2 separate regions of the Homo sapiens genome follow, and region 2 is linked to region 1. Evidence: promoter capture Hi-C in human tissues and cell types (Jung and others, 2019). All regions are on one chromosome and are shown on one strand. The core of a region is centred on a gene start or on the middle of the fragment in contact, and the rest is flanking DNA. Distances in the headings are between cores, read along the strand shown.

Evidence for each region. The method cuts DNA at HindIII sites, captures the fragments that hold promoters and counts their contacts. A contact is called where the count stands out against the background at its distance.
Region 2: a fragment that was not itself captured here is called in contact with the fragment with the promoter of TK1 in region 1 in 2 of the 25 tissues and cell types used here (aorta and stomach).

Annotation. Positions count from the first base shown.
Region 1 is chr17:78,185,344-78,189,254 of GRCh38, reverse strand. TK1 (thymidine kinase 1) reads left to right here and starts at 2,203. Exons shown (of 7, transcript NM_003258.5): 1 at 2,203-2,326; 2 at 2,437-2,468. The coding sequence starts at 2,261. AFMID (arylformamidase) reads right to left here and starts at 1,893. Exons shown (of 11, transcript NM_001010982.5): 1 at 1,822-1,893. The coding sequence starts at 1,884. RefSeq lists a silencer at 1,911-2,050. The HindIII fragment of the contact is 12,138 bases long and covers 1-3,911 here.
Region 2 is chr17:77,809,605-77,813,515 of GRCh38, reverse strand. The region is part of intron 1 of LOC105371908 (a long non-coding RNA gene); the gene reads left to right. Among named protein-coding and RNA genes, the nearest start is that of LINC01973, 73 kb to the left of the region's middle. RefSeq lists an enhancer at 2,402-3,090. The HindIII fragment of the contact is 4,695 bases long and covers 1-3,911 here.

The DNA of each region.
Region 1 (3,911 bases), core at 954-3,453:
GCGAGACTCCATCTCAAAAAAAAAAAAAAAAAAAAGTAACAAGGAACCAGATTTTGAAGAAAGGGCTCAAAACCATCATGAGAAATGGGAAGTCAGGGCAGCCTCATGGCAAGGCCTGAGGTCAAATGCCATCTGACCTCCCTCACTTACTTACTGTTTTATCCTCAACAAGTTACTTAGTCTCTGAGATTCAGTTTCCTGACTGGTAGAAGGTATCTATCCAGGCCCGGCACAGTGGCTCACACCTGTAATCTCAGCACTTTGGGAGGCCGAGGCGGGTGGATCACTTGAGGCCAGGAGTTCAAGACCAGTCTGTCCAACATGGCGAAACCCCATCTCTATTAAAAATACAAAAATTGGCCAGGCGCAGTGGCTCATGCCTGTAAACCCAGCACTTTGGGAGGCCAAGGGGGGCGGATCATGAGGTCAGGAGTTGGAGACCATCCTGGCTAACACAGTGAAACCCCATCTCTACTAAAAATACAAAAAAATTAGCCGGGCATGGTTGCGGGCGCATGTAGTCCCAGCTACTCAGGAGGCTGAGGCCGGAGAATGGCGTGAACCCTGGAAGAAGAGGTTGCAGTGAGCCCAGATCGCGCCACTGCACTCCAGCCTGGGCGATAGAGCGAGACTCTGTCTCAAAAGAAAAAAAAAAAAAATTAGCCAGGCATGTAGTACCAGCTACAGTGTGCCTGTAATCCCAGCCACTCGGGAGGCTGAGGCAGGAGAATCACTTGAACCCGGGAGGTAGAGGTTGCAGTGAGCCGAGATCATGCCACTGCACTCCAGCCTGGGTGACTGAGCGAGACTGTGTCTCAAAAAAAGAAGGCATGTATCCAAATCACAAGGTTAAAAGAGATAAAGCATGCGAGTAAAATAAAGCAAGCCAGTCAGTGTGGGTTGCTTCTTCCTCCCAGTGAAGGAGCTCTTTGTCAGAGGTCCTTGGATCTGTCCAATCTGTACCTGGAAAGGTTATTACCTGTAGGATCCTTACAGCCACACCTGGCACACTCTGTGATCACTACCACCATCTTTGTTGCTATTATTTATGATCATGATTATACAATGGGTTTCTTTTCTTTCTTTCTTTTTTTTTTTGAGCCACCGCACCCGGCCTGTATGTTTCTAACCTTCACAACCCCAATGTAAATACCAGCTGTTCTGAATCCTTCAGCCTGTGCCACATAAGCACAGACCCAAAAACATTGTGTAACCTCAGATCAAGGTCCAGAACTTTGTCCCCTAACCTCCTGCGGGTCTATGGATTTTTTTTTTTTTTTTTTTTTTTTTTTTTGAGACTAAGTCTTGGTCTATCGCCCAGCCTTCCAGGCTGGAGTACAAATGGCATGATCTCGGCTCACTGCAACCTCCACCTCCTGGGTTCAAGCGATTCTCCTGTCTCAGCCTCCCCAGTAGCTGGGATTACAGAGGTACATCACCACGCCCGGCTAATTTTTGTATTTTTAGTAGAAACGGGGTTTCACCATGTTGGCCAGGCTGGTCTCGAACTCCTGACCTCGTGATCCGCCAAAAGTGCTAGGATTACAGGTGTGAGCCGCCACGCCTGGCAGGGTCTACGGATATTATTAGCATAGTCAGGACTTCAATTTTCTTTATCCTGAAAACCAGGTTAACAAAAATCCTTAGGAGAAGGTAAAATACACCATGGTGCTCAAGCACTGGGGACCTGGCACGCACTAGGCGCTCTGCATGCCCACAGGAGTGCTCTAGACGGCTTCTAAGCTTCCTTCTTGGAATTCCAATCTAATAAATGAGCTAACTCCGCCCCAGCCCCTTAGTCCCTCCCTGCAATCCACCTACCTCTGCAGACATCTTCTTCCAAGGAACCTTGCTTGGGAAACCCACACCAGACACATCCATCATGGCGTCTACAGCCGCATGGGCGTGCGTCCCTCTGTTTATATGGCCAGAGCCCCGCCTCGCTCCGCCCCTTTAAACTTGGTGGGCGGACCGAGGCGGGGCTCAGACCAGGCCCCACCCCGATCAGCCACGTCCATCGCCCTGATTTCCAGGCCCTCCCAGTCCCTGGGCGCACGTCCCGGATTCCTCCCACGAGGGGGCGGGCTGCGGCCAAATCTCCCGCCAGGTCAGCGGCCGGGCGCTGATTGGCCCCATGGCGGCGGGGCCGGCTCGTGATTGGCCAGCACGCCGTGGTTTAAAGCGGTCGGCGCGGGAACCAGGGGCTTACTGCGGGACGGCCTTGGAGAGTACTCGGGTTCGTGAACTTCCCGGAGGCGCAATGAGCTGCATTAACCTGCCCACTGTGCTGCCTGGCTCCCCCAGCAAGACCCGGGGGCAGATCCAGGTGCGGGGGCCAGCCCTGCGCGTGGCTGGGGATGAGGTGGTCGTGGTGATAGCCTGTGTCCAGGCATCCGCGCAGGGCGGGCCCTCAAATGACCTCACCTTCTCTCCTAGGTGATTCTCGGGCCGATGTTCTCAGGAAAAAGGTAATGGCTTCGCGGGGCTGGGGTGGAGCTCCTTCCTCTTCTCCGGGGACCCCTTGTCCCGTCCCTCCCCTCCCCTTCCCTCCCCTCCCCTCCCCTCCCCTTCCCTTCCCTCCCCTTCCCTTCCCCTAGAAGGACCAGCACAGCCTCCTACAGCTCCCGCCTGGGGTGCTCCTCCCTTGAATTCAGTCCAGGAGGAAGTCTCTGCCCTCTTCTGCCCAGGCCAAGCCCCTCGTCCTGTGTGGACGCCACTCCCTCCTGGAGCTGGTGACAGCTGCTTACAGCTTAGCTGTCTTCCCCACCAAGTCCTCTGAGAAGGTGGCAACCAGTTGTGTCCCCTGTAGGCCAGGCCTTTTTGTACACCCCTATTCAATGTGGCTGTTTCCTTCTAAGGCCAAGGAAACGTAGTCGCTTTCTAAACCAAGGAGTCTGAAGCCGTGGAGCCTCTGCTCTCCTGAGGTGATAGAACCATTCCCTGACCCGGGTGGGGCTAGTGAGTTTCTTGAGTAAACTACCCACGCACCATTCTTTTTGTTTTGTTTTTGTTCTTCTAGAGGTAGGATCTTGCTATGTTGCCCAGGCTGGTCTCAAACTCCTGGGCTCAAGCAATTCTCTCACCTCAGCCTCCCAAGTAGCTGGGACTACAGGCGTGCACCCCCCCGCCTCCACCCAGCTAATTTTATTTTATTTTTATAGAGCTGGGGTCTTGCTATGTTGCCCAAGCTGGTCTTGAACTCCTGGTCTCAAGCAATCCTCCTACTTCAGCATCCCAAAGTGCTGGGATTACAGATGTTAGCCACCATGCCCTGCCCCAACATTCTTTTATGGCCCTGGGGATCACTTCAGCTCAAACCCCTTGCTCAGGAAGATGTGGCTCAGAGTTGGACTTCTTGGACCCAGAAGCAAGTGCTTTTGACGCTGCACACAAAGACTTTCTGAAATTAATTTAGAAAAGCTGTATGCCAGGTGTGGTGGCCCACGCCTTTAATCCCAGCGCTTTGGAAGGCTGAGGTGCGTTGATCACTTGAGGTTAGGAGTTTGAGACCACCCTGGTCAACGTGGTAAAACCCCATCTCTACTGAAAAAAAAAACCAAAAATTATCTGGGCATGGTGGCAGCCTCCTGTAATCCCAGCTACTCGGGAGGTTGAGGCAGGAGAATCTCTTGAACCCGGAAGGCAGGGGTTGCAGTGAGCTGAGATCGCTCCACTGCACTCTAACCTAGGCAACAGAGCGAGACTCCACCCCAAAAAGAAAGAAAGAAAAACTCTGAACTCTGGGAACAACTCTGGGATGAGGTTACTTTGGAATGCAGTCGCAGGTTCCCTCTACATGTAGCCTTTGCTTCTGCCTTCCCCACTACATCTTGGAGAAGGTTACTCCTCCCACACTTCCTGGGACCACCTGAGTACCATTCCTGGACCTCTTCCCCATAGAGAATTCTGAC
Region 2 (3,911 bases), core at 376-2,875, 380 kb after region 1:
CAATTATCTTCTCCTGGCCCTGCCTTGACACATGGGGATTATTACAATTCAAGATGGGATTTGGGTGGGGACACAGCCTAACCATATCACAGTCTCTATCCTGTATGTATAATTAAAAGGCGATTACAGCTGTTTTTGGCTTAAAAAATTAAACATGACCATCTTGCTCTAAAAAACATCCCTAGATGGCCCCAAATAGAGAAAATCACAAGTAAAGTGGCATAGACAAGAAGAACTAGATGGAAAAGACAAGGCAGGTACAGGGAAAAGGACTATAAGGTGGGAGGCTCGGTGAAACACCTGCTTCCTAGGGTCAAGTAAAGATCAAAGCTCAAGGAATGTCTACCTGAACGGAAACTCCTTTTATTCATTATCTATGGCTGCATCACAAATTTCCTCAAAACTTAAGGGATTCAAATAATAATAACTATTTGTTATTGCCCATAGTTTCTGTGATTCAGGAAATTCAGGAGCAGCTTAGCTGGGTGGTTCTAGGTTGGCATCTCTCCTGAGCCTTTTGTCAAGATGTTGGCAGGGCTAGAGTCATTTGAAGGCTTAACTGGGGTGGGAGAGTCTGCTTCCAAGATGGCTCATTCATGTGGTGAGCAAGTAGTTGCTGGCTGTTGGCTGGAGGCCTCAGTTCCTCTTCATGTGGAATTTTCCATGGGGCTCTTGAGTATCGTCACAATATGGCGGCTCTTTCCCTAGAGGAAGGGATGCAAGAGAGAGCAAGTGAAGGCTGCAATGTGCTTATGACCTAGCTTTGGAAATCACAGGCCTTTGGGGTAAAGAAGGCCTGGAAGGTGGCTATGGTCTTTGGGTTCTCCAGGGTACAGTCCATAGGCACCTCCCACCCTAGAGCCCAACCCCATTGGTGTTGGCCCTGAACCCAACCTCCACGTTCTGGCTGATACCCCAGTGGCTGCTCTCTGGGCCCTGATCAGCCAACAAGTACTCTATGACCTACAAATATGCTAGTGACACACAGACTCCAACGGCTGGACTAGCTCAGACTTCAGTGAAATAGACATCAGCCAGGTGAGGAGCTCAGCTTGCCATCTGTCTCCCTGGGCCATACTCATTGATGACGAGGTCAATTTCTGCTTTTGCCATCTTCCCACAGAGGGCCCAGCAAGCTTGGCCGCTGAGCTTTCTTGGGACATGGTGACTTCCTTCCTAGAAGGAAGTCCCTGCTACTTTCTGCCAGTGCTCAGGTTAGAGATGGGATTGCTTGTGTGTGGTCTCATTTCCCTTCCTGACCCCCAGGACAACCTTTCCTTATTCACTGTGACACTGAATGCCACACCTTAGACAGTAGTTGCTTGACGTATTTTGCCGAATGGATGAAAAGCACCCCAGAGACCCCACAGTGCCCTGGGGCATCATTCTCACTGTATTCTATGTGGCTCTACCCCAGCCCCAACCCATTTCCAAATCCCTCTCTGTACACTGACCACAGAGAAGTAGAATGATTTGCAGGGAGGCTGAGCATTTGGGGAGGAGGACATCTCAGGAGGAAGGAGGTGGTGGCCCTGGCAGATGGTCTTCGTGCATGGGACCGGATGTCCAGTCCCTCAGCTCCAGCCAAGGCAATACAGATTCTCCTGGGGACCTGAGGCGGACTCCTCCACATCTTATTTCTAAGCACAAATCCATCTCCATCCCCTTTTGCCTCCTCCGCATGCTCGTTCCTGCCGGCTCAGCACCCTGGAGGGAAGTGGGATATGGCCCAGCAGGTCACCTAGAATAAAGTAAGTCATCAGAAAAGGTCCCTGATTCATCAGAGGGCTTTGGCTGCCAAGCAAATGCTCTTGAAAGCTTGCTTTCTTCAGCTGCTGCGTCTCAGGGGCAGGGACTTACAGTGTTTGCTTTTCAGCCAACCACCCTCTTGACTCAGAGGCTGAAGTGCCCAGGAAGCAGGGGCAGAAGGCCCCAATGTAAGGTGAGCATGGGGTGAAGTGAGCCCCGAATTTGGGAGAGCAAAGTATGGCTCTGCCTAGCCAGACGACCTCTGGATTTGGGAACACGAATATGATAATAAAAACAATATGTGCTCCTCAGTGATGACACTGATTGAACCTTTCCCTGGGTCAGGCATTGGGCTGATGGTTTTGCAGGTTGTCTCTTCCTTAATCCTCACATCACCCTCAAAGGGTGTCTGTTAATGCTCCCATTTGGATGATAAAAAAGCAGAGGTTGCCTGAGCCGGATTTGCCAGTTCTAGAGTTTGATCTCTTCACTGGCATGAGATGCTGCTTCTTGGCCCCAGGGTCTGTCCTTGAAGCAAATGAAGTCCAACCTGCACAAGCATCCCCAGGGTAGGGACACGTGGACTGCTGGGGGAAATCACAGGGAAGGGGTGAGAATGGAGCCGTCTTCCTTTTCTGAATGAGGGTGGTGCCCTGAAGATTTATCCCGCCCCTTGCTGGTGCAAGGTTGTGGAGGGCCCAAGAGTAGCAGGCACATCTGGGCACATGGAGGCTGGTATGAGCATGTGGGTGTGGAATACAGAAGACCCTAAACAAGAACTGAGATCTGAACCTTTCACAAGGTAATGCCCCAAATAGCAGAGCAAGTGATGCAAAGGATTTCATAACTGTGGTGTCATGCCCCAGAGATGCAGCTGACCAGCCTGGAGCCTTCTGTCTCATCTGGGCCTTTTGTTTTCTGTCCTTCTGCAACTGGAGACAAGCTTATTCTCAGCCCCTCAGCCTGGATTGGTGTCCTGGCTGGGCTCCGAAGAGCAGAAAGGCCATGCATGTTCTCTTTCCTTTACCCATGCCAGAAGCTGTGTGAGTCATGTGTTTGTATTTTTAGCAACACATAGGAATTGCTGCATGACAAATAATTGGGGGGGGGGAGTGGAGACACTTGCAAAATTAACATAACAAAGGCAGTTATTTGGATCTAACTCTCAGGGATAGAGGCAGCCTGGCAGTGCTCCTTGATCCAGGAAAGGCAAGAGAAATGAAGGGCTGACGGTGGGGTTGCCGGTGCCCCAGGAGTGGAGGCACCCAAAGGTTTTCTATGGGTAGCAAAGGAAAATAGCTTTTCCGGGTGGGCAGCTGGCATGGTCCTGGAGACCTGGGCATTGTATGTGCTGTTCTAGTGTGATCACAGCAAGTTTGCTTCACTTAGAAAGGCTAGAGAATGTGGATTTCTTCCTGTGGACTCCCTAGGCCCCTAAATGAGCCCCACAGCCTCCTGGGAGTCTTGCCCATTTCAATCACTTGTTATCTTCACCATCACCCCGTTACCACCACCATCATCGCCACCATCACCATCATCACCACCATCACCATCACCATCACCATGATCACCACCACCATCACTATCACCATCATCATCACCATCACCATCATCATCACCATCACCATCATCACCACTATCACCATCACCACCACTACCATCACCATCACCAGCATCACCTCCATCACCATCACCACCATTATCATCACCATTACCATCACCACCATCATCACCATCATCACCATCATCACCATCACCACTATCACCATCACCATCGCCATCACCATCATCACCACTATCACCATCACCATCACCTTCATCACCACTGTCACCATCACCATTATTACCACCGTCACCATCATCATCACTATCATCACCATCACCATCATCACTAACTACCATCACCATCACCACTACCATCATCACCATTACCATCATCACCACCATCACCATCATCTTTACCATCATCATCATCATCATCACTATCATCCATGGAGAGTTTGACATGTCCATCTTCCTGAACATGTTGCACACATTATCTGATTGAATTTATCCTTCATAACAGCTGTGGGGAGTACATGAAAATGATCCCATTTTGCAGAGGCAAAAACTGAGGACCAGAGAGATTTGGGTCTGACCTCAAAGATGGATAATCCCGAGAA